Regions from separate parts of the Homo sapiens genome. Here regions 1, 2, 4, 5, 6 and 7 are each linked to region 3. The links are contacts of gene promoters, found by promoter capture Hi-C in blood cells and fetal thymus (Javierre and others, 2016). All regions are on one chromosome and are shown on one strand. Each heading gives the region's core, a stretch centred on a gene start or on the middle of the fragment in contact. The rest is flanking DNA. Distances are from core to core; before and after follow the strand shown.

Region 1 (3,597 bases), core at 1,052-3,551, 410 kb after region 3:
TTTCTTTTATGTCTTTATATATAATAACCTATCCTTTTCTTGTTAAGCTTATGTCCAAGAAAGGAGCGACATTGATTATTTAATAATTGTACCCTCTCTGCTTAATTTCCATGCGTGGAATGAATATCTTTGGGTCAAGTGGGATACTTTATCCTTTTTTTTTATTTTTATACTTTAAGTTCTAGGGTACATGTGCACAACGTGCAGGTTTGTTACATCTGTATACATGTGCCATGTTTGTATGCTGCACCCATTAACTCATCGTTTACATTAGGTATATCTCCTAATGCTATCCCTTCCCCCTATTCTTTTTTTTTTTTGAGACGGAGTTTCACTCTTGTTGCCCAGGCTGGGGTGCAATGGTATGATCTCGGCTCACTGCAACCTCTGCCTCCCAGGTTCAAGCGATTCTTCTGCCTCAGCCTCCTGAGTAGCTGGGATTACAGGCATGCGCCACCATGCCTGGCTAATTTTTTTGGCATTTTTAGTAGAGACGGGGTTTCTCCATGTTGGTCAGGCTGGTCTCGAACTCCCAACCTCAGGTGATCTGCTCGCCTCGGCCTCCCAGAGTGCTGAGATTACAGGCATGAGCCACTGCACCCAGCCTACTTTATTCTTTAAAATTATTTTCTTCCTTAATATTTATGTCTAGGCCTTCCTAAAATATAAATAAAATGATGAGATCAGGAAGTTAAAAAGACTAAGATAGAGTAAGACTTCATTAATACCGTAAGCAACCTCTGGTTTAAAAAATTCCTGACATTCTGCTCCTACTTGTCTGCTGGGGAAGCAGCCCTTCAACCATGCACCTGAGCCTGCCTCATCTGAACAAACAGCAACCAGCTGGGCCCCTTGGCGTTTCCCTGGGGATGACAACAGAACAACTCAGAAGGGTTAGGAAGACAACATCTCATGAGGATGCCAAATGGGCTTTGGCGATGGATTTTTCTAGTTTAACACTTTTATCAAGTTACTTTCAAAGTTTTTGAATATTTATTAAGAAATGAGTTCTGATGTTAACTTTTAAATGAAATCTTTTGGTCTTTTCATTTTGTGTGCAGTAGAATCCTGCTTATCTGTGAAATGCAGTTAACACATCAGCTGGACCTATTTCCCGAATGCAGGGTAACCCTTCTGTTATTTAAAGATGTAAAAAATGCGGGAGACTTGAGAAGAAAGGCCATGGAAGGCACCATCGATGGATCACTGATAAATCCTACAGTGGTAAATATAAATTTTAAGAATGAATGAGCCTGCTGGGTGCGGTGGCTCACGCCTGTAATGCCAGCACTTTAGGAGGCCGAGGCGGGTGGATCATCTGAGGTCAGGAGTTGAAGACCAGCCTGGCCAACATGGTGAAACCCTGTCTCAACTAAAAATACAAAAATTAGCTGGGCGTGGTGGCGGGCGCCTATAATCCCAGCTACTCGGGAGGCTGAGGCAGGAAAATCATTTGAACCCTGGAGGCAGAGGTTGCAGTGAGCCAAGATTGCGCCATTGCACTCCAGCCTGGGCGACGAGCAAAACTCTGTCTGGAAAAAAAAAATGGCCAGGCATGGTAGCTCACGCCTGTAATCCCAGCCCTTTGGGAGGCCGAGGCAGGCAGATCATGAGGTCAGGAGTTTGAGACCAGCCTGGCCAATATGGTGAAACCCTGTCTCTACTAAAAATACAAAAATTAGCTGAGCATGGTGGTGGGCACCTGTACTCAGGAGACTGAGGCAGGAGAATCGCTTGAGCCTGGGAGGCAGAGGTTGCAGTGAGCCGAGATTGTGCCACTGCACTCCAGCCTGGGCAACAGACCAAGAATCCGCCTCAAAAAAAAAAAAAAAAAAAAAGAATGAATGAGCCATACAGGGCATTTAAGTATACATTAATATTTGTGATGTTATAGGGTAGCCTAAAAATCTGTCACGGTTAGGGAAAAAATTCTTGTCCAAGTCAGATGCAGCCAACTTTGACTATAACAGTGAATAGAGGCAGAAGTGCCAGGTCCTGCCCTAGGAAATAGGAAAGGTTGTGGTCTGGGTCTAATATGGGAAATGCCTGGATCTCCAGCTTCTCATCTTTAAAATGGGGGTTCCTAACAAGACAGTCTGTAGAGGAGGAATAGTGTAGTGGTTAAGAGTACACACAGAGGCCAAGGTGGGTGGATTGCTTGAGGCCCGGAGTTTGAGACCAGCCTGGCCTACATAGTGAAACCGTGTCTCTACTAAAAATACAAAAAGTAGCTGGGTGTGGTGGTGTGTGCTGGTAGTCCCAGCTACTCGGGAGGCTGAGGCACAAGAATCATTTGAACCTGGGAGGCGGAGGTTACAGTGAATTGAGATTGAGCCACTGCATTCCAGCCTGGGCAATGGAGCGAGAGACTCTGTCTGTCTCCAAAAAAAAAAAAAAACAAAAAAACAGGGCACACGCAGTGCGATCATGTTACCGGGAATTAATCCCAGACCTACTACTTAGGCCTTTGAACAAGACATAACCAACCTTTATATAGTGCTTACTGCATTCCTAGCATTGTTCCAAGTGCTTTACGTATACTAACTTGCTTAATCTTCACAACAGCCTATGGAGTGAATACTGTTTCATCGGTCTCTAACAAATAAAATGCTAATGAACTTGCATAAGTTTCCTAGGTGATAGGTGACAGAGATGGGATTCAAACCCAGACATTCTTTGCCTCAATTTCCTCATCAATTACATACTACTACTACTGCTACTACTACTAATAATAGTGTCAATTTCATAGGGTAGTTTTGAGGATTAAAGAAAATATTACAAGTAAAATGTTTGCAATATGATCATGCCCATAATATTAGCCCTCAATTAATGTTATTTAAAAAAATTTTACTATTTGCATAAGTTCCTTGCAGCTTTAAAATTCTGTGATTTCCTGACTACCCAGGCCCTTGGGATAATAGTTGTTTTTTGTTTTTTTTTTTTTTGAGACAGTTTCACTCTTGTTGCCCAGGCTGGAGTGCAATGGCGCGATCTTGGCTCACGGCAACCTCTGCCTCCCGGGTTCAAGCAATTGTCCTGCCTCAGCCTCCTGAGTTGCTGGGATTACAGGTGCGTGCCACCACGCCTGACTAATTTTTGTATTTTTAGTAGAGAGGGTTTCGCCGTGTTGGCCAGGCTGGTCTTGAACCCTGACGTCAGGTGATCTACCCACCTTGGCCTCCCAAAGTGCTAGGATTACAGGTGTGAGCCACCGTGCCCAGCCGGGATAATAGTTTTGAAAATACAGACCGTAAGAATTGTGATGAAGTAAAACAGCTTGACACTGGAGTTAACCATGAGTTACCATGTGTTTTCAGGCACTGCAGATTCTCCATGTGTAATTAATTCTTTTTCCTTGCTTTGGTAGATTGTTGATCCATTTCAGATACTTGTGGCAGCAAACAAAGCAGTTCACCTCTACAAACTGGGAAAAATGAAGACAAGAACTCTATCTACTGAAATTATTTTCAACCTTTCCCCAAATAACAATGTAATGTGCACTTTCCTATTTCTGTTGACCGTGTCATAATAACATATGTGTTCCTCAGTGTTGGGTTGGAGGCTAAATTCCTGCAAGCCAGTGGTTAGTAATAAACC
Region 2 (3,391 bases), core at 870-3,369, 430 kb after region 3:
GGTAAAGGATTTCGATTTAGATGCCAAGTGGGAAAGACAAACCCCAAGTCCTGCCGGCAGTCACCCCGGTAAGGAAGTGGTGGACAGAAGTAAAGACAGGACCCAAGAGGAGAAGGCAATCAAGAGGGAGGTTTACTTGCGTTTGATAAAATTTAAAGTGTGTAGAAAGGCATCATTGGAAAAGCTTCCCTTCCACTCCTGTTCTCCATTCACTCTGTTCACAACCCTACAGGATTTCAGAGAATTGTTTTACATTCAAGCAATTCTCTTCCCTCCTTTATTTGTTAAAAAAACGCAAGTTGTAGTATGATACACACTGCTCTGCACTTTTGATTTTTTTTTAAATTATGTGTCTTGGAGATCTTTCCATACTGGTATAGACAGACCTTCCTCATTCTATGTAGGACTTCATTATCTGGATATACAGTAATTTATTTAACAGTTTGTCTACTGATGGACAGATAAACTGTTTTAATTTTCTGCTATAACAAACTGCTTCAGTCGTTAATTTTGTACACTATTTTGCACATATGCAAGTATCTATAGCTTAAATTCCACATGTGCACAGTATATCATAAATTCCAAAAGTAAAAATGCTGGGTGAGCTGGGTGCAGTGGCTCACACCTGTAATCCCAGCACTTTGGGAGGCCGAGGCAGGCAGATCACTTGAGCTCAGGAGTTCGAGACTAGCCTGTGCAATATGGTGAAACCTCGTCTCTACCAAAAAATACAAAAATTAGCCGGGTGGTGGCACATGCCTGTACTCCCAGCTACTCAGGAGGCTGAGGTGGGAGGATCACTTGAGCCTGGGAGACGGAGGCTGCAGTGAGCTAAGATCATGCCACTGCACTCCAGCCTTGGTGACAGAGTGAGACCCTGTTTCAAAAATAAAAATAAAATTCTGGGCGAAAGTAATTTAGATAGGAACTGTTAAATTACCTTTCACAATGAACCAACTTCTACTCCCACAAGAATATATAAGGGACTCTATTTCCCTACACTCTTGCCATCAAATTTGAATTTTTGATAATCTGGTGAAAAAAGGCAGTTGGATACAGTTTTAATCTTCATTTGAGAGAGGTTGCGTATCTTACATATTTAAGAGCCATTTGTATTTCAATGGAAAAGTTTGAATTTAAGTAATTGTTTTGCATGTATGCTCTTATTTAATTTGTGCTTGTTGCAAAGTGCAGACTTTGAGCACAAGAAACTACTGGTAGACGATGAAATAGAGCAAATCACATGTTTTCCTACCTGGAAAAAGAAAAGAAACCTTGGTATCATTACTGCAACCAATGTCAGTTACCCACAGGATAAGCAAGCCTACAAGTCTCCAGGAGCCCTTTTTAATCCAATTCAAACTGTTCAGATGTAGTTGGGGGAAGCCTGAGACAATGTGAACATGCTGCCATGTATCTGTAATTGTTGTAGTTGGATAGGACCTGAGCTCTTGCAAGATGATAAGACAAAAAAATCCTGGCTGTATTCGTGGGGCTTGGAACAACTCTGATGGGGATGTTAATTTTTCATATGATAGAGTCAATAGATACTGTTTCGTGTCTGAGAGTGATAGATTGAGAAAGTGGTTGAAGCATATCAGTTAATTAGATTACATGGCTACTAAGTTATCAGAAAAACAGCTCAAAGAAGCATACATTATGGCTGGGCGCGGTGGCTCACACCTGTAATCCCAGCACTTTGGGAGGCTGAGGCAGGCAGATCATGAGGTCAGGAGTTCGAGACCAGCCTGACCAACATGGTGAAACCCCATCTCTACTAAAAATACAAAAATTAGCCAGGCATGGTGGCGGGCACCTGTAATCCCAGCTGCTCAGGAGGCTGAGGCAAGAGAATCGCTTGAACCTGGGAGGTGGAGGTTGCAGTGAGTCAAGATCGTGCCACTGCACTCCAGCCTGGGTGACAGAGCGAGACTCAGTCTCCAAAAAAAAAAAAAAAAAAAGAAAAGAAAAAAAGAAACATATATTACATAGTAATAAAAAAAGATTGGAAATGGCAATAAATCTGTAAAAATCATAAGATATCCTGGATAGCCAAAACAATTTTGAAAGAGAACAACAATGTTGGAGGACTCACACTACAACAATGTTGGAGGACTCACACTTCCTGATTCTAAAACATATTACTGGCTGGGCACAGCATCTTTCAGACGTGTAATCTCAGGACTTCTGGAGACCCAGGCTGGAGGATCACTTGAGCCCAGGAGTTTGATACCAGCCTGGGTAACATAGTGAGATCCCCATCTCCACCAAAAAAAAAAAAAACAAAAAAAACAAAAATAAAAAACAAAAACAGGATTAAAATATGAACCAGTAATTTCGCTCCTAGGTATACATTGAAAGAATTGATAATAGGTATTCAAATAACTGCTTGTATGTGAATGTTCACAGCAGCATCATTCACAATAACCAAAAGATAGAAACAACCTTAATGTCCATCAATGAATGAATGGATAAACAAAGTGCGGTATAAACATACATGGAATTTTGAGCCCTAAAAAGGAATGAAATACTGATGCATGATGCAACACGAATGAATTCTGAAAACATTAACTGAAAGAAGCCACACATAAAAGGTCAGATATTGTACAATTCCATTTATATGAAACATCCACGATAAATAAATCCATAGAGACAGAAAGCAGATTAGGTTGCCAGGGATTGGGGAGAGAGGGAAATAAGGGGGAACCACTTAATAAACAAGGAATTTCCTTTTGCAGTGATAAAAATGATTCGGAACCAGAAAGGGGTGGTCGTTGCACAACATTGTGAATGTACTAAATGCCACTGAATTGTGCACATTAATTGGATTAATTGAAATAATAAAACCGGACGCGGGTCTTACCTTTAGGAGCTCACAATCACACTTGAGTCCCTGAGTCCCTTTAGACTTCCAAGATTCAGTTTCACTGTCTGAAAGCAGGGCCAAGTGCCTAGAATGTGCAAAGACCTTCAGAGTTTATCTTTTATGCAGAGAATCCCCCACAATTCCTCTTTTCAGAGGTAACTGCTACCAACATTTGGTGGAACCACTCAGACTTTTCTCTCTGCATGCTTGTTTGTGGATATCATTTTTCAATACCATTTTTCCAAAAATAAATCCAAACATATTGTTTTATAATCTTTTCTTGCTTGTTGCTATAGTTGGGCAATGTTTTTCATGTCAGTAAACCCTCATCAGCATTGGTCATGGCTGTGAGGTACTGTGCTACAGAAATAGAGCAGGATTTATTCAGCCAGTCCCCTCTTGTTGCACTTTAGGTTGCTTCTGTGTCAATAAACTTTACAGTGATAAACATCCTTATACAAACATCTTTGCACATTTGACCAGTTACTTTCTTGAGCTCTAACCCTAGAAGTTGAATTTGGATCA
Region 3 (3,401 bases), core at 355-2,854:
CTACCTATTGGGTACTATGCTCATTACCTGAAGGACGGATTCGTTCATACTCCAAACCTCAGCACCATGCAATATACCTCTGTAACAAGCCTGCATATATACCCCCGATTCTAAAATAGAAGTTGCAAAAGGAAGTCCCTCTACCAATTCTCATTGGTCTGGCTCAGACCATGGGGCCGACCCTAAACCAGTCTCTGATTAGCCAGACTTGGGTCCTGTTTCCATTCCTAAAGCTGGGGATAGGTGCGCCTCATCTAAACCATGCTGTCTGAATAGCAAGGGAATGGTTCACCATTACTACCCTGCTTGAGAAAAAATTTTTTTGACAGTTTAAATTGCATCATTGACAGCAATGAAGAAAACTTAGCAAATCATCTCTAAACATTTTAAAAGAATGAAGCAGAAAATGTAAGACAGGCTAGTAATTGATCCAAAGGAGAAATTCTGAAGGCCAGAACATAGGAGTCAGTTAATACTGTAATAAATAAATTAGACAATATCCATATATAACAACTATAGGTCCAATCCATCCAAGTGCAACGCTGAAGGGACGTATTGATTGCATAGGCCAGAATGTTGGCAAAAAGCTGGTAAATCCTGCAGGGTGCCACCAGACCGCGTGCTGCAAACAAATAACAGCTAGAGAGAGGAGAGGCTTGGTTGAATTTCGGCCTTGACTGGTCTGAAGACTCCAGAGGCGGGACGAATTTGCGGACAGTTCTACCCCATCCCACATGGCGTCAGCTTCCCTTCCATTCTCATGACTCCATGGTCCATGGCTCCAACCTGGGCCTCTGTTAGGCTGTGTCCTGTGGCACCTTAAACTCAGGCAAATTAAGAACTGTTCGTGGACTCTGCTCAGCCCCCACCTAACCCTCCATCCAAGTCATTGTCCAAGCCAGAAACTGGAGTCATCTCAGATACCTTCCCACTCACACCTCCACATGCAGTCGCTCGATTCCATTCACCTCCCAAGTGTCTCAGTTCATTCTTCCATCCCTCCCGCCACTGGTTTAGTTAGGCCCCTCCATTCTCACCTGGACCATCGCGGTAGCCTCGGAGCTTCTGACTGTGTCTCTGGTTGCAGCCCCTACACGCTCTCTTCCTTACAGGAGCGGAGCGATCTTTCTCAAGCGCGAATCAAATCCTTCCACGAGTCCCCGCACCTGGAGCGAAGGCCAAACTCCTCAGCTTAGAAGCTAGACTGCCAGAGTAGGGAGTGGGAATGGAAAAGTACATCAGGAGCACGAGGGGTATTCGGATGAGGGAAGGCCAGTATAGGGCGCCGAGACCTTGGAGTGTTTCTGAGCTGAGGAGGAATGAGACTTTCACGCGGGCAAGGGGACCCTATCCATGAAACAGGCCCTGGGGAGACTGAAGGAGAGCGGCGCGAGCGAAGGCAGAGGGCGGGGCCCCGAGGTCGGCAGGCGCTGCAGTGTCGGGGGTGGCGAGTCAGCCAGGGCCAGGGGATGGCGGGGTGGGGCCGGAGCCAGGCGACCGGAGGCCTCCGGGGCGGGGCCGGGAGGCTGACGGCCTCCGGGCGGCAGGGGGCGGCCTCTCCCACGGCGGCGGCTCTCGGTCCCCCGCTCCGCGTCTTTCGGGCATACAGTGACCTCGGGCGGCGGGTCACGTCGGCCGGGCATGGCTGCATGGAGCCCGGCCGCGGCAGCGCCTCTCCTCCGCGGGATCCGCGGGGTGAGCGTGGGCAGGGTCGGGGCTGCTCTCCCCGGGACGGGAGCTGCGGAGGGACCGCGGGGCCGGCGGCTGTCGGGGCTTGAGGACTGGCTCCCGGAGGGCGCGCGCGGCACTGGCAATGGGGGGCTCCTCTTCCTTTCTCTCATTCATTCTTTCATTCATTCATTCACTCAGCGACAACGGCATTCGAAATTTCAAGCTCTGGCGCGCTCTAGGGGAGCTCCCGAGCTGGGTGGAGGTTGGAGGTCAGGCGGACAGACACATGAACAGTCATAATACTGCGGGCACAGGAAAAAAAAAGGATTGGTTTACCGAGCAGAAGACAGGAGTCATAGCCCAGAGTCAAGGCGTGGGTGCGAGGGACTGCAGCGGGGCCGGGGCCTTGGGAAGGTCGACTGGGCCTCTGACCTTGATCCTCCTCCAAATCCCACACTACCGGAGCAGAACCCAAGCAGGGGGCACTTCCCACGCGCTCTCCTAATCTCTCCCCCTTTCTGAACCATCCTTTGCTTCAGCTCATACCATTCTTTCTCTTAACTTTCATTTTCCTTCTCCCCTGGTTCTGAACCTGCCTGCCCTGTGCATGAAGAGAAGTTCTTCCACTGCGGTGACTTTCAGCGTGGACAGTGATCATCTGGGGATGTCAGTTGATTGTTCCACTAAAGGCCGCTGCCCACAGATCCGCTAAGATGAAAGGCTTCTCCCAAGGATTCTGCAACGCTCACCTCTCTCACCCCTTAGTAGCTGCCGATTCTGTCTGCCATCTGGTTACTCTCTGCCTTTACCCTCAAGATTCTGCCCCCAGAAGCAGCTCCACCCCACCCTCACTCCTGGCAATCCTGTCCAGCCTCTCAACATCGAGTTTCTGTCCCTCCACACAGCAGGCAGACAATCACACTCTGGACCTTTCTCCTGTCTTGCATTTCTGTCCCTAATTGACTAGTTCTTCCCCTGCTCATTCATTCATCCAGCACCAAGTGCCTCTGAGGGCCTGCCCTGGGGTCAGCTCTGGGATGCTGCCGGACTCATTCCTGGCCTATAAGACCAGTGGTGAGAGAGCCAGTGCACAGCTCATTTTAAAGGAGGTGCTCTGAGATTCTGTGACACAGGACCCTGCTCTGAGCTATCAGGAAGGACTGAGGGGTAGAGGGGTGGGACCTTCAGCACCAGCACCCATGAACGGCCCTAGTGTCCTCCAACCTGTCATCCACGTCTAGTCAGGGACCAGTGCCCGGTGCTTCCATCATTGTAATGCCTCTTACTTGGGCATCTCTCCTGACTCGCTCCAGAAGGCACTGTTTCCTGCAGGTTACTTTGGTCCCATGAGCCTGGGTTCTATCACCTGGAGTCCCATCTCCTGTCCCATACAGTCCACAATCTTTAGCCTGGCATTCAAGGCCTGCCACACTCCATTCCCAGTCTGCCTTTTCAGCATGCACTCAGCCCAGCCAAGTGACTGCCGACCTGCTTTTCTGCTCCTTCACTACTAACTGTTGAGACGTGTTCCATCAGAAACATGGGCTCCCCTGGCCGGGCGTGGTGGCTCATGCCTGTAATCCTAGAATTTTGGGAGGTTGAGGTGGGTGGATCACCTGAGGTCAGGGGTTTGAGACCAGCCTGGCCAACATGGTGAAACCTCATCTCTACTAAAAATACAAAAATTTGCCGAGCGTGGTGGTGGGTGCCTGGAATCCCAGCTACTCAGG
Region 4 (3,427 bases), core at 758-3,257, 390 kb before region 3:
GAATGAGAAAATCAAAACCTGATGTATTAATCATTTTTCAATTTGTTTTGGTAGTTCTACCCTAGAACATGTAAAAGTTGTAGAACTTTAGAATAAGAAAAGAATGTACAGATAATTGAACTATTTACTACTCTTTTACAGGTAATGAAATTGAGGCTCTAAGAGCTTCAGTGCTATTTAAGAAGTCACTCTTCTAGTTCATTTCAGCTTGACAGATGTTTATTGAACTCCTATTTGCCAAGTACTGTGCAAGGTGCTGAGAATACAAAGGTGAATAAATGACAAGAGAGGTTATTAGGCTGCAGATCATAGAAGACCTTATAGGCCATCATAAGGATTCAGGTCCTTATGATAAAAGGATTGGGAAGCCTTTGATGTTTGGATTGTTTGTTTGTTTGTTTTGTTTGTTTGTTTTTTTGAGAGGGAGTCTGGCTTGTTGCCCAGGCTGGAGTGCAGTGGCACAATCTCTGCTCACTGCAACCTCCACCTCCCTGGGTTCAAGTGATTCTTCTGCTTCAGCCTCCTGAGTGGCTAGGTCTACAGGTGCCCACCACGCCCAGCTAATTTTTGTATTTTTAGTAGAGACGAGGTTTCACCATGCTCGCCAGGCTGGTCTTGAACTCCTGACCTCAGGTGATCCGCCTACCTCGGCCTCCCAAAGTGCTGGGCTTACAGGCTTGAGCCACCGTGCCCGGCCATTGAAGTGTTTTAATGGGGAGGGCTATGAGATGGCATGATCAGGTTTGTGACTCCAAAAGATCATTTGAATCTATTTCTTTTTTTTCTTTTCTTTTCTTTTTTTTTTTTTTTTTTTTTTTGAGACAGAGCCTTGCTTTGTCACCCAGGCTGGAGTGTACTGGTGCAATCTTGGTTCACTGCAACCTCCGCCTCCTGGGTTCAAGCAATTCTCCTACCTCAGCCTCTCGAGTAGCTGGGATTACGGGCACGCGCCACCATGCCCAGCTAATTTGCTGATTTTTGGGTATTTTTAGTAAAGATGGGGTTTCTCCATGTTGCCCAGGCTGGTCTTGATCTCCTGACCTCAGGATCAGATCAAGTGATCTGCCTGTCCTGGCCTCCCAAAGTGCTGGGATTACAGCTATGAGCCACCACGCCCCGCCTTTGACTCTATTTCTGAGAATAATCAGGAGAGGAGCAAAAGATATGGATTGGAGAGATATTTAGAAGTAAAATTGACAGGACTTGGTTATTGATTGACTTTGGGATCCAAGAAAGGGAGAAGTCAGGATTGACCCCTAGGTTTCTGGAGTGGATTTTACTGAGATAATTATCTTTTTTTTTTGGACCTACATTACATTTCAGATTACTTTCAGATCTCTACCTAGAAACATCAAGAAGGCAATGAAATAGACAAGATTATGAATACACTAGGTGTGAATTAGACCATATAGAGGGCCCTATATGAAGTGAGAACAAAATGCCTAAGAAAGAGCTCCACAAATTTTAATGACCAGATAGGGGAGGAGCCTGCAGAGAAGACCAAGAAAGAGCAACCAGAATTAGGAGTAGGCGGCTCTAGGCACACTGCCTAGGAGTCAGCCCTGCTCCCTGGGGAGCCACTCTGGAAATTAATAATAATAATAAGCAGAATTAGGAATAAAACCAGGATATTGTAGTGTTATAGCAGCCAAGGAAAGAGAGGACAGTCAGATGTTGCAGAGAGGTCATTAAGATGAAGACTGAAAAATGTCTGCTGGATTTAACAAAATAGAAGTTTGCAGAGTGATAGGTAGGGAAAACCAGAGGAAGTGGGTTGAAAAATGAGTAAGAGGAGGCTGGGCATGGTGGCTCACACCTGTAATCCCAGCACTTTGGGAGGCCAAGGCAGGTGAATCACCTGAGATCAGGAGTTTGAGACCAGCCTGGCCAACATGATGAAACTCCGTCTCTACTAAAAATACAAAAATTAGCTGGCTGTGGTGGTGCGTGCCTGTAATCCCAGCTACCTGGGAGGCTGAGGCAGGAGAATTGCTGAGCCCAGGAGGCGGAGGTTGCAGTGAGCCAAGATTGCACCACTGCACTCCAGCCTGAGTGACAGATCGAGACTCTGTCTCAAAAAAAAAAAAAAAAAGTAGGAAGAGAGGATATAAAGATGATAAGTATGGACAGCTCTTGAGAAATGTTACTGTGAAGGGGAGGAGAGATAAGTAGAGGGTGTGTGTGTGTGTGTGTGTGTGCATGTGTAGGAGTGATTTGAATGTTTAAAAGGATTCAGTTGAGAAAAAGAAATGGTATGCAGGACTGAGAAAAATTGTAAGAGATGGAATTTAGAAACATTTAGGTACAGTAGACTTAGAGAAGAAAAATAGTTGAAAGGTATGAGAAGAGGATATGCAAATGTAGACAGGTTTTTGTTTTGGGTTTTTTCTTTGTTTGTTTGTTTGTTTGTTTGATTCCTTGTTTTTGAGACAGGGTCTCTCTATGTTGACCAGGCCAGAGTGCAGTGGCGCCATCATGGCTCACTGCAACCTCGACCTCTTGGGCTCAAGCGATCATCCCATCTCAGCCTCCTGAGTAGCTGGAACTACAGGCTCGAGCCACCACACCCGGCTAATTTTTAAATTTTTTGTAGAGACGAGGTCTCACTGTGTTGCCCAGGCTGGTCTCAAACTTCTGGGCTCAAGCAGTCCTCCTGCCTCAGCCTCCCAAAGTGCTGGGATTACAGGCGTAAGCCGCTGCCCCTGGCCTACATAGGTTTTTATGTTTGATGGCTGAAGGAAGGAACAAATGGTAGGTGGAAACAAACACATCTGTGAATGAAGAAATTTAAATCAAGACAAATAACAGCACTGGTCCTCAATGAGGACAAAGTCCTTAACATAACTTATATATAATTTTATATATAAAATATTTATAAGATAAAAGGGTCTAAACTCTTTTATATAAATATGAAATAAGATTACATATGTTTGTGTATATATATATATAAATAATACAAAGACCTGTTGATATAAGGTCCTTAAATAATTTAGAGAAGAGGTACTTCTAAATTTCTAGATAATACCAAAATGTTTTAGTACTACTCTGGAGATCAAGGTGAACTCTCCAGGTTGATTGGTGAAGAGGCCAAGTGTATTTCATTTTAGACATTTTAGACATGTTTGAGAAAAAGACATTTGGAGAAAAAATTTCACACCATATTTATAAGATGAAAGAGTCTAACTATTAGCAATGTCTCAGTAAAGGGACCTGAGAGTTGTATATTCTTTGCCAGGAATGTCCAACACTTTGGACACTTTGGCAAAGAGACCAACTAAGTACATCCTCAGGAAGAAGCTGAGGCAGAAAATATCAAACAGCTTCTGACTGGTTTAAAATATATACGTATATTTAAATCCCAAGGTGTCTTCACACATTAAACAGTCATCCCTCAGTAACCATGGGGGATTGGTTCTAGGATCTCCCA
Region 5 (3,603 bases), core at 366-2,865, 390 kb after region 3:
AAGATAATCATCCCAAGCTTGATAAAAACCTTCCTCAGTATAGTGGCTATTAATAGCCAAAATTTGGGGGGCTGCCAAGGGAAATTCCTTCAGGAGAGGAGGAGCAGTGTATTCAAAAGTTCGTTGAACAGTCTGATATATAGTAAAAGATTTTCTGTGACCTGGGTTGTGAAGGGTTATATTAATGCCAGGCCATAGCCTTACATTTCCTCGTGTTAGCACACCAGAGACCTGATTTTCTTTGGAATAGTTTTTCATAAAAGTTTGTTACTGTACTCAGTTGTTTCCTTGTAAGAGCAAGACCGACCAAGGTAATACCAACATGCTAGAGATAGGTAACAGCCCTCAAACCCTACGAGCTTCTGTAGGCTATCTGCATAATGTGCCCATTGTAGGAAAAGATTGGTTTCAGCAGACACCGTAAGCCATATAGTACTGTGGTGCTTAGCAAGAAGGCTTTACTTATCTGTGGATGTTTTCTTCAAAAGCAGCTTCAGGTTTTTAGTTGGTTCACATGTCCTTTCAGGTCTATTAACCTGATAGGTCGGGCTGAGGCGGGGGCAATTTTTATCCAGGTATAATGTACCCACGGTTTAACTCCTGCCCAATTGATGAATGCGTGGTCAGAAGGACCTCATAGGGTCTTACCCTTTGAGGGGCTAGTTGGTGATTCAGTCCAGTCTCCCTCCAGGTTTTAAGTAGAACTTGGTCTCTAGCCTAGAAAGGGTGAGGTGGCCTGTCCATGGGGAAGAAGCAAACTCATGAACAGAAGTCGGTATTTCATTTAGCAATTTTAAATAATGTCTAATAGCTCCTTCCCTTTCTAAGATTTTATAGCCTGATCTAGCCCCAATGTGGCTAGGAAGGGTCTCTCATACATAATTTCTAAAGGGCTCAACTAGAGCCTGTTTCAGGGAATGACCCAAATCCTCAGCAGGAGAGAAGGTAGTACTTTGTCCCAAGTTAGATTAGTTTCCTGGCACACTTTAGCAGCAGTTTTTTTTTTTTGTTTTTTTGTTTTTTTTGTTTTTGAGACAGTCTCACTCTGTCGCCCAGGCTGGAGTGGAGTGGCATGATCACGGCTCACTGCAATCTCTACCTCCCGGCTTCAAGCAATTCGTGTGCCTCAGCCTCCCAAGCAGCTGGGACTAAGGGCATGCGCCTCCACGTCCAGCTAATTTTTTTGTATTTTTAGTAGAGATGGGGTTTGCCATGTTGGCCAGGCTGGTCTCAAACTCCTGGGCTCAAATAATCCACCTGCCTTGGCCTCCCAAAGTGCTGGGATTACAGGTATAAGCCACCACACCTGGCCTAATTGTTCTTTAAATAGTTTGATTCAGTTTTTTAGTCTTTCCGGTGGGCTGTGGCTGTGCTGCATGAAGTTTCCATTCAATGTCTAGGACTTGAGACACTTCCTGTACTACCTGAGAGATGAACACCGCACCATGGTCACTCTGAATCGTCAAAGGGAGTTCATACTGGGGAATTATCTCTTTAGTATAGTGTGGGCCACTTCAGCTCCCTTTCTGTTCGGATAGGGTATGCCTCTACCCATCCTGTAAATGTGTCTACAAAAAACAAAAAGATGTTTTTTGTACAAAAAGATGCCCTGTAGCCTCCAGGCACCCGTGGCATTGTGGTGAAATTAACTTGCCAGTCCTTGCATGGAGAGTCTCCTCAATGTTGTACCCTTGAACAGGGGTGGGGTCAGTTTTAGGGCAGTTTGGGCACAAAGCATGCATTGATAGATCACATTTTGAATGACCCCATTGCATGTCGGGGTCAATCAAGAACTCACATGCCATTGAAGGGTTGCATCTTTTCTGTAATGGATGCTTTGATGAAACTAGCTCACTATATCTTTAAGGAGGGCACTGGGAACCAATACGATACCTTCCAGATTACATTTCCAGCCTGGATGGGCCAGGGCTGGGATGTGAATCCCCATTCCTTGGCTCACTTTAAATCTCCTTTGGTATAGCAAGGTTGGAACTTGGTCAGATCATTGTGAGGTATTAGTGGGGCTAAGAAAGCCTCAGAGTCCAATGTTTTTGTGGCTTGCTTGGCTGCCAGGTCGGCAAGCTAATTTCCTTTGACTATTCGGGAGTCTCCTTTTTGATGGCTGGGACAGTGGATGATAGCCACTATTAGAGGGGGCATTTACTGATTTTTTTTTTTTTTTTTTTTTTTTTTTTTTTTTTTTTAGATAGAGTCTCACTCTGTTGCTCAGGCTAGGGTGCAGTGGCACAATCTCGGCTCACTGCAACTTCTGCCTCCCGGGTTCAAGTGATTCTCCTGCCTCAGCCTCCCAAGTAGCTGGGACTACAGGCATGTGTCACCGTGCCTGGCTAATTTTTATATTTTTTAGTAGAGACGAGGTTTCACCATGTTGGCCAGGCTGGTCTTGAACTCCTGACCTTAGGTGATTCACCCGCCTCAGCCTCCCAAAGTGCTGGGATTATAGGCATGAGCCACCATGCCTGGCCTTTTACAGATTCTAATAAGGCCAAAATATCAGAAGTATATTTGATTTCTTTATTTTTGCTAGTCAAAAGACCTCTCTCTACATAGCTCTGTGGGCATGTGCCACCAAGAAATCATATTGGGAGTCTATGTAAATATTCATAATTTTTTTTCTTACCCAATTGGAGGGCATGCATAAGGGCACCTTGGCCCACTGAGCTGAGGTGCCTAGCAATAAGGCTTTGGCTTCCTTAATTCCTTGTAAGGTAATGACCTCAAATTCAGCATGATGATGTCCATGGTCCATGAAGCTGCTTGCATCTGTGAACAGTCCTAGTTTGGAGCACAGCAGGGGCTGATCTGCCAGGTCTGGTTGCCTTGGAAAGACCTGCTCATTAATTGGAAGGCAATTTTGTATGGGCCCTGGCTCCTTCTCTGGAGGTATTAAGGTAGCAGAGTTAAGAACCGAGAACACCTTTAACTTCACCTCTGGATTGTCAAGGAGGGTGGATGGCTTGGTATTTTCCCAACCTCTCAGAGGTCAGCCAGTATCCACCTTTTTGATCTAAGAGACAGGAGATGTGATGCAGTGTGTGGACAGTGATGAGCTGAGCTAGAGTTAGCTTTTCAGCCTCCTAGAAGAGGTTGCAAGTTGCAGCCACTGCTCGGAGGCAGGGGGACCAACCCTCACCACCTGGTCAAACTGTTCAGAGAAATAGGCAATCAGTCTTCAGTCAGTTCCCAAGCTTTGAGTTAGGACACCCAAGCCCATGGCTTGTTTTTTGTGCACAACTAAATTAGAGGGCTTTCTTAAATCTGGAAGGCCCAGCAAAGAGGCAGTCTTTAACTTTTCTTTGACTTTATTTTATTTACTTATTTATTTTTTTTGACATGGAGTTTTGTTCTTGTCACTTAGGCTGGAGTGCAGTGACACGATCTCAGCTCACTGCAACCTTTGCCTCCTGGATTCTCCAGCCTCAACCTCCTGAGCAGCTGGGATTACAGGCACCCACCACGATGCCCAGCTAATTTTTGTATTTTTTAGTAGAGACAGGGTTTTGCCGTGTAGGCCAGGCAGGTCTCGAACTCCTGACCTCAAGTGATCTGACTGCCTCGGCCTCCCAAAGTGCTGGGATTACA
Region 6 (3,133 bases), core at 118-2,617, 360 kb before region 3:
TTATATTCAAGATTGGCTAGGCGCGGTGGCTCATGCCTGTAATCCTAGCACTTTGGGAGGCCTAGGTGGGTGGATCACGAGGTCAGCAGATTGAGACCATCCTGGCTGACACGGTGAAACCCCGTGTCTACTAAAACTACAAAAAATTAGCCGGGCTTGGTGGCGGGCACCCGTAGTCCCAGCTACTCGGGATGCTGAGGCAGGAGAATGGCGTGAACCCGGGAGGCGGAGCTGGCAGTGAGCCGAGATCGCGCCACTGCACTCTAGCCTGGGTGACAAAGCGAGACTCCATCTCAAAAAAAAAAAAAAAAAAAAAAGACGAAGATAGAGGTGCTGGAATGAGTGCCCCCTCATACACACTGCTTTGGATCTGTCTCACCATGTCCTGTGTGTCCGTGGCTCTCATCAACTTAGTCTTTCCTACCCCTCAGCTGTCTCAGATCTTTATCATCTGGACAAAATCTTTGCCTGAGTCTTCAAGAGAGATCATGCTTTTCCTTTCCTTTTTACTTCATGCCTACTGCCTCCATTTCATCATGATTTATTCTTGTTTTAACTCAGTGCAAGCTGCCTTCATTATAGTAACCCTTTCTCAGAGAGCTCCAGTGTTCAGTATCCCTCCTCCAGGACTTCCCTGGCATGTTTTACTTTGTTGGTCATCAATTATTTTTTGAAGTGTCCCTTCTTTTTGCTTCTGTAATATCTTATTCCACATCTTTGGACTTTCGTAGTCACTGCTTATGTTTTTCCTCCACTGATTTTCCTTCTTCCACTGAAGACTGTGAGGATTCTTCAGAGCTCAGACTTAAGCTTTCTTTTTTCTTTTCTTTTTTTTTTTTTTTTAAGACATGGGATCTCACTCTGTCGCTCAGGCTGGAGTGCAGTAGCATTATCACGGTTCACTGCTGCCTCAACCTCCCAGGCTCGAGCAATCTTCCTAACTCAGCCTCCCAAGTAGCTGGGACTACAGGTATGCGCCACCATGCCAGGCTAATTTTTGTACTTTTTGTAGTGACGGAGTCCCACCATGTTGCCCAGGCTGGTCTCCAACTCCTGGGCTCAAGTATCCACCTGCCTCAGCCTCCCAAAGTGCTGGAATTACAGGCATTAGCCACTGCACCAGGCCTTAAGCTTTCTTTATCTCTTCATCTGCTCAAGTTTCACCCATTCCAAAAGTCCCAACTCTCATATCCAGCCAGATAACTCTGAGACCTCCATCCCTTGTTCTGACACTCCAGCCCCACCGCTCACTCTCCTAGCCTTCTGACAAGCTCCCCCTGCTTCCCTGCAGCCACCTTAAGTCCAGCAGGCTGGAGGACATGCTTCCCTCCAAAGCTCTTCATTCACCCTCTTACCCAGGCCTACCAAGCCAGGTTCCTGGCTACTTCCTCCTATTATACTTTCCTTTGAACTGTTTCAGATACAGCCCTTCCTTTCCATTGCCATTGCTAAAACCCTAATCGAGGCTGTCATCACCACCACTTGGATTCATTCATGTATTCATCCAGAAAAGTTTTATTGAACACCAACTATGCACCTGGCACTGGAGCTATATCTGTGAACACAACAGAGGAAAAAAAATCCTTGCCACTGAGAAGCTTATAGTCTAGTGGAAAAGGCAGATGAAAAACTAGGAAATATGTTTTCTAGAAAATATTTTCTGAAAATAACTAGAAAATATAATATATATTAGAAATGTATATTAAATAATAATAAATGATAGAATGCTAATAAGTGCTAACCAGAAAAAAAAGAGCAAGGAAGTGAAAGGGTGGGTGAGTTGTTATTCATCTAGAGTGATTACAGCAGCCTCATGAGTAAAGACCTGAAAGAAGGAGGGAGCCATTTTGGATACCTAAGCATTTCAAGTTGGGGACACAGTGGAAGGATATCCTGGTGTATCTGAAGAGACTATGCAGGCCCTTGCACACCACTCTGAGACTTTGACTTTCATTCTGATTGAAAAGGGAAGCTCTCAACAGGTTTTAAACGTAAAAAAGGAACAACCTAATTTTTCAACTTTATTTTTAATAGCTTTCTTGAAGTATAATGGACATATAAACTGCAAATATTTGAAGTGTACAATTTGATAAGTTTTGACATATGTATATACCCATGATACCATCATCACCATAAAAATAATAAACATATCCACATCTCAAAAATTGTCCTTTGTCCTTTGTGTTTCATGTTTTATCAGAATCACTAGCTCTGAGAAACAGCACTCAACTGTGATGTTGAGAACAGGCGAAGGGGGACTCAAGGAAAACAGTCAAGAGGCCACTACAGAGGACAGATGATAGTGGCTCGGACCAGGGAAGTAGGTAAACAGGGGCTGTAACGAATAATTGATTAATCACTAATCTCATAACTTCTTGCTGCATATTCACTTCAATTCACTCTGAAGAGAAATGAACAAAAATGTCGCTTTCACAGGATAACCTCCCTTCAAAAAAGTCCGCTAGCTCCCAATTGCCCTCAGGCTAAAAATCGCAACTCTTTATGGCCCTGCTTTTTCTATTACCACTCTCAAATCTACATCTTGACCTTCCTGTCCTCTGGTCATTCCCCTCCACGTCCTTTCTATTTCACCACACTTCCACCCCCTCCCCCAAGTCTAAATTGTGCCCAAAGTCCCACTTTCTCCAGAAAGCCTTTTTTGAGGTCTCCATTGGAATCTCTCCCTTCTCGTATCTCCAGTTGCATTTGATGTTAATACCTCATAGCAAATTTATCCCTTTTTAAGTACCCAGAGCCGGCGGTGTAGAGCTCTCGAGCGAGCACCCCGCGTAGTCCCCAAGTGCGGGACTGGGCCTATGCTACTACAGGCGCTCGCTGCCTAAGCCTGTCTGTGTGTGGCAGTGTCCTAGTCGTCCTCCCCTCCTCCTTCGGCATCTGCTCTGCATTAGTCTGTCCCAGGCCTCCGCAGGCGCCGATGATTAAATCATCATCATTAACCAGGGCCTGCCCCCCCCATCCCCGGCAGCAGGGGGGAGAATGGGGGAATAAGATCACTACCAAGTCCCTGGGGGTCTCTCACTCCCCATCCCCCGGCACCCTCTCCGAGACTCTGCAAAGCCCAAGAAACTCCCTCCGTGAAGCCGGGAGAAGACCCGCCATCTGGACGAAGCTC
Region 7 (3,556 bases), core at 71-2,570, 370 kb after region 3:
ATATAGAAGTGGGCTTATTTTTTTCTTTCTGACCACTCTGGAAGAAAGGATTGTTGTAATATACCTTCTATGTTCCAGGAGAATGGAAACTTTCCTTTGAATCTCGTTGTATGTTAGCATCACAGGACTTGAATAAATGCCTAATGTAGTACAGGATTTTAAGCACATATTTGCTCTTATTTCATTCTCTGTGACAGAGTTTTGAAAAGAAACTTGCTCCAGAAGAATGCTTTTCCCCTTTGGATCTTTTTAACAAAATCCGAGAACAAAATGAAGAACTTGGACTGATTATTGATTTAACATATACTCAACGCTATTATAAACCAGAGGTAAGTGGAACCCTTCAATGAAAAGAACTTTCTTCCTTCTGATCCTAAAATAATTTATAGTAATTCAGTAATCATCTTGTGCTAATGTGAAGCTTGGCCTTCTTTGATGGGTAGTAAGTTTAAAAGAGAACCAAGTGATTTCTCTAATTACATGTTTTTAATTGCTGTCTTAAATGGAATATTATTCAGCCATAAAAAAGAATAGATTTAATACGTGCTACAATATGGATGAACCTTAAAAACATGCTTAGTGAAATAAACCAGACACAGAAGGACAAATATATGATTCCACTTGTATGAAGTACCTAGAATAGACAAATTCACAGAGACAGAAAGCAGACTAAAGGATCTATGAGGTGGGGAGAAAAGGGAATTATGGTTTAGTGGTCAGAGTCTTTTTGTCGGGGATGATGAAAAAGTTTTGGGTATAGACAGTGGTGATGGTTACACAATACTGTGAATGTAATGCCACTGAACTATACACTTGTGGATGGTTAAAATGATTTTGACTTAGCCTCTTCTGTCTTTTATCTGTATCTACTTTTCTCCCACCCCAAGAATATCGGTTCTCAATAGTGCCTGGAATTCCCTCTATCTCACAATTCAAATCCAAGTTCTTCTGACTCTATTCTCTACTCTTCTACTTAAATCATAGCTGCTTTATGAAGGCACTGGCCCTTGAATTATAAAATATTAAATGGAACTGTTTATATAATTTATAGTTAAATATGCATTCATTCACATGGAATTTGCTTTCAGTTTTGTATACCTAGTGACTATCTATTATGTAGTTTTATTGAAAATCAAGTGATACTTCCTGGTTGAAGCAGTGTTGGAAAAAATGGCTCTTTTATCAGAATTGTGTATACTGATATTGGCATATTAAGTTTGTTATAATCTCTTGGCTTATATTCTGGGTCCCCTAATTACTCTTTAATTATTTCTCTACAAGTGAAATAATACACATCTTTTATGGTTTTGCTTTATAGGATTTGCCAGAAACTGTTCCTTACTTAAAAATTTTTACAGTTGGACATCAAGTGCCTGATGATGAGACTATTTTTAAATTCAAACACGCTGTTAATGGGTTTTTGAAAGAAAATAAAGATAATGGTGAGTTTTTGTTCTTACCTGAACTGTGGTGTGCATTATGAATGGGGTTGGGGATTTTTGGTATTTTTTTATAGTTCCAACCTCAGACCTGTTGTATTTAATGATGCTAAGGTGATGAAAATGTCAGATGGTGCTAATAGGGTAAGATGTTTTTCCTTTTGTTGATCACAAATAATTTAACTTTGGAATGTTAAATTAGTTTTAGTGCAAAATATGAACTGAACTGGCTCATCTTTCTTTTTTAATTTGAATGAGAAATATATAAAATTAAAATGTTATTTTTGTCTTCTATATTGGTTAAGAAGTGAGAAGTAGAAGAAAAGATTAAAAAACTCTGAGTCTTAGAGTTATGTGAAAGAGACAAGAAAGGGCAAAGATTAAGAATGGGACGGACCCCTAGAAGCAAAACAAGAAAGAGTGCACCAGTGGAATTGCCCCTTTGTCATATGTATTTAAGACACATGTATACATATGTAACAAACCTGCACGTTGTGCACATGTACCCTAAAACTTAAAGTATAATTAAAAAAAAGATATTTCTGCTGTTTTTCCGCTTTGAGTACAGATGGGGAAGGATACCACCACCTCTTATTCTTCACATGGGAGAACTTAAGCCAAAGGCTGGTGCTTTCTTGTTCCTGCTTTAAGATTTACCTTACTCTTTTGAAAATAGAACTTAACAGCTTCTTTATCTTAAGGATCCAGTTGCCTTTTTCTGGCATCTCTCTGCCAGAAAGAACATGATATTTGTCATATTTTAAGACTGAAGAAGCTTTTATCTTTGGAAAGCCACTGACACCCACAGGACAGAGGCTTCATTTGCCTTCTTTCCAAATTTAGCTTGAGGAGTGTACACTTTGTTACATAAATCTGACAGTAAATACTCCTTTTTAAAAAATGTGATGGAGTAGTGGAGAAAGAATAGAGACAGAGGTGGGAAGATAGGGAATGGAAGGTGAGAGATAGAGACTGGATCAGTGGGTTTGAAGATAAAATTTCAAATTGTAACCTAGTCGCTCACTTAATGTGGACACTAGCTTTTAATTATGTTAAACCTTGTTCACAGATCTTCCCCTGTACTTTAACTTTAAAACTTGAGAGGTTTGGCTTTCCCATTTGTATAAGCTGTTGTCACAGAAATACTACCTTTTAAGATATGAGGGTACAGCTGATGGCCTATTCACTGCTTCCAGGCTCTTTTCTGTGAAATTTTTATATAGCACTTCATCTGTTCTGTGAGGGCTAGGAGGTCCTTATGAATACATGAGAACACATTTTTAAATCTTAGTTGTTCACGTTATACTGATTGTAGTCAGTTGGATAGACTGAACTCCATGTTGGTCTTCTGCCTGAGTGGTGCTGACTGTCTAAGTCTTGCAGTACTCACTGCCATAGCAGGCTTGGGACCTTGTTTATAATCAGTTTTGGCTACCTCTGCTATAATCCCTTCCCACAGATAACAGGCTCACTGATAAAAAGAGGACACTACACTCTCCACTCGCTTCTAGAACTAGTAGGGACTGAGAAAATAAATTGATTCAGTAAACACTGAGATCCTTTTAGATTTGTTGTTAGAGCATGAAGACACAGAGATGATAGCAGTCTTTGTTTTTTGTTATAGCAGTTCACAGTTATCTAGGAAAATAAATATGTAGTGCATGTGGTTTAAGATGTGGGTTAGGCTGGGCGCGGTGGCTCATGCCTGTAATCCCAGCACTTTGGGAGGCCGAGGTGGGCGGATCACGAGGTCAGGAGATCGAGACCATCCTGGCTAACACGGTGAAACCCCATCTCTACTAAAAATACAAAAAATTAGCCAGGCGTGGTGGCAGGCATCTGTAGTCCAAGCTACTCGGGGGGCTGAGGCAGGAGAATGGCGTGAACCCGGGAGGCGGAGCTTTCAGTGAGCGGAGATGGCGCCACTGCACTCCAGCCTGGGGGACAGAGCAAGACCCTGTCTCAAAAAAAAAAAGATGTGGGTTAATTATAGAACAAAAAAGCCGGGCGCGATGGCTCATGCCTGTAATCCCGGCACTTTAGGAGGCCGAGGTGGGCAGATCATGAGGTCAGGAGATCGAGACCATCCTGACTAACATGGTGAAACCCCATCTCTA

Evidence for each region. The method cuts DNA at HindIII sites, captures the fragments that hold promoters and counts their contacts. A CHiCAGO score of 5 or more calls a contact.
Region 1: a contact is called between a fragment that was not itself captured here and the fragment with the promoter of BOLA3 in region 3, in 6 of 17 cell types (erythroblasts, naive CD8 T cells, activated CD4 T cells and 3 more). The highest score is 8.2, in erythroblasts.
Region 2: a fragment that was not itself captured here is called in contact with the fragment with the promoter of BOLA3 in region 3 in 3 of 17 cell types (M2 macrophages, M1 macrophages and erythroblasts); the score reaches 6.4 in M2 macrophages.
Region 4: a fragment that was not itself captured here is called in contact with the fragment with the promoter of BOLA3 in region 3 in 1 of 17 cell types (naive CD8 T cells); the score reaches 5.2 in naive CD8 T cells.
Region 5: a fragment that was not itself captured here is called in contact with the fragment with the promoter of BOLA3 in region 3 in 14 of 17 cell types (M2 macrophages, activated CD4 T cells, M1 macrophages and 11 more); the score reaches 10.2 in M2 macrophages.
Region 6: a fragment that was not itself captured here is called in contact with the fragment with the promoter of BOLA3 in region 3 in 1 of 17 cell types (total CD8 T cells); the score reaches 5.3 in total CD8 T cells.
Region 7: a contact is called between a fragment that was not itself captured here and the fragment with the promoter of BOLA3 in region 3, in 17 of 17 cell types (naive CD8 T cells, erythroblasts, M2 macrophages and 14 more). The highest score is 18.1, in naive CD8 T cells.

What each region holds. Positions count from the first base shown.
Region 1 is chr2:73,732,056-73,735,652 of GRCh38, reverse strand. TPRKB (TP53RK binding protein) reads left to right here. Exons shown (of 5, transcript NM_016058.5): 2 at 1,062-1,224; 3 at 3,368-3,490. The coding sequence starts at 1,084. Among named protein-coding and RNA genes, the nearest start is that of TPRKB, 3.5 kb to the left of the region's middle. The HindIII fragment of the contact is 4,504 bases long and covers 50-3,597 here.
Region 2 is chr2:73,713,043-73,716,433 of GRCh38, reverse strand. The region is part of intron 1 of LOC124907848 (a long non-coding RNA gene); the gene reads left to right. Among named protein-coding and RNA genes, the nearest start is that of TPRKB, 23 kb to the left of the region's middle. The HindIII fragment of the contact is 3,865 bases long and covers 187-3,391 here.
Region 3 is chr2:74,146,115-74,149,515 of GRCh38, reverse strand. It overlaps BOLA3 (bolA family member 3), which reads left to right and starts at 1,604. Exons shown (of 4, transcript NM_212552.3): 1 at 1,604-1,695. The coding sequence starts at 1,642. BOLA3-DT (BOLA3 divergent transcript) reads right to left here and starts at 1,535. Exons shown (of 3, transcript NR_045636.1): 1 at 1,293-1,535; 2 at 1,038-1,166; 3 at 1-818. RefSeq lists an enhancer at 1,191-1,850 and a silencer at 1,384-1,863. The HindIII fragment of the contact is 11,442 bases long and covers 1-3,401 here.
Region 4 is chr2:74,541,292-74,544,718 of GRCh38, reverse strand. All of the region lies in intron 4 of LOXL3 (lysyl oxidase like 3), which reads left to right. Among named protein-coding and RNA genes, the nearest start is that of LOXL3, 11 kb to the left of the region's middle. The HindIII fragment of the contact is 5,114 bases long and covers 1-3,427 here.
Region 5 is chr2:73,755,814-73,759,416 of GRCh38, reverse strand. No RefSeq gene overlaps it. Among named protein-coding and RNA genes, the nearest start is that of TPRKB, 20 kb to the right of the region's middle. The HindIII fragment of the contact is 3,192 bases long and covers 20-3,211 here.
Region 6 is chr2:74,508,108-74,511,240 of GRCh38, reverse strand. No RefSeq gene overlaps it. Among named protein-coding and RNA genes, the nearest start is that of PCGF1, 2.0 kb to the right of the region's middle. RefSeq lists an enhancer at 2,737-2,796. The HindIII fragment of the contact is 467 bases long and covers 1,134-1,600 here.
Region 7 is chr2:73,771,686-73,775,241 of GRCh38, reverse strand. It overlaps DUSP11 (dual specificity phosphatase 11), which reads left to right. Exons shown (of 9, transcript NM_003584.3): 3 at 198-329; 4 at 1,319-1,442. Among named protein-coding and RNA genes, the nearest start is that of DUSP11, 6.6 kb to the left of the region's middle. The HindIII fragment of the contact is 1,793 bases long and covers 424-2,216 here.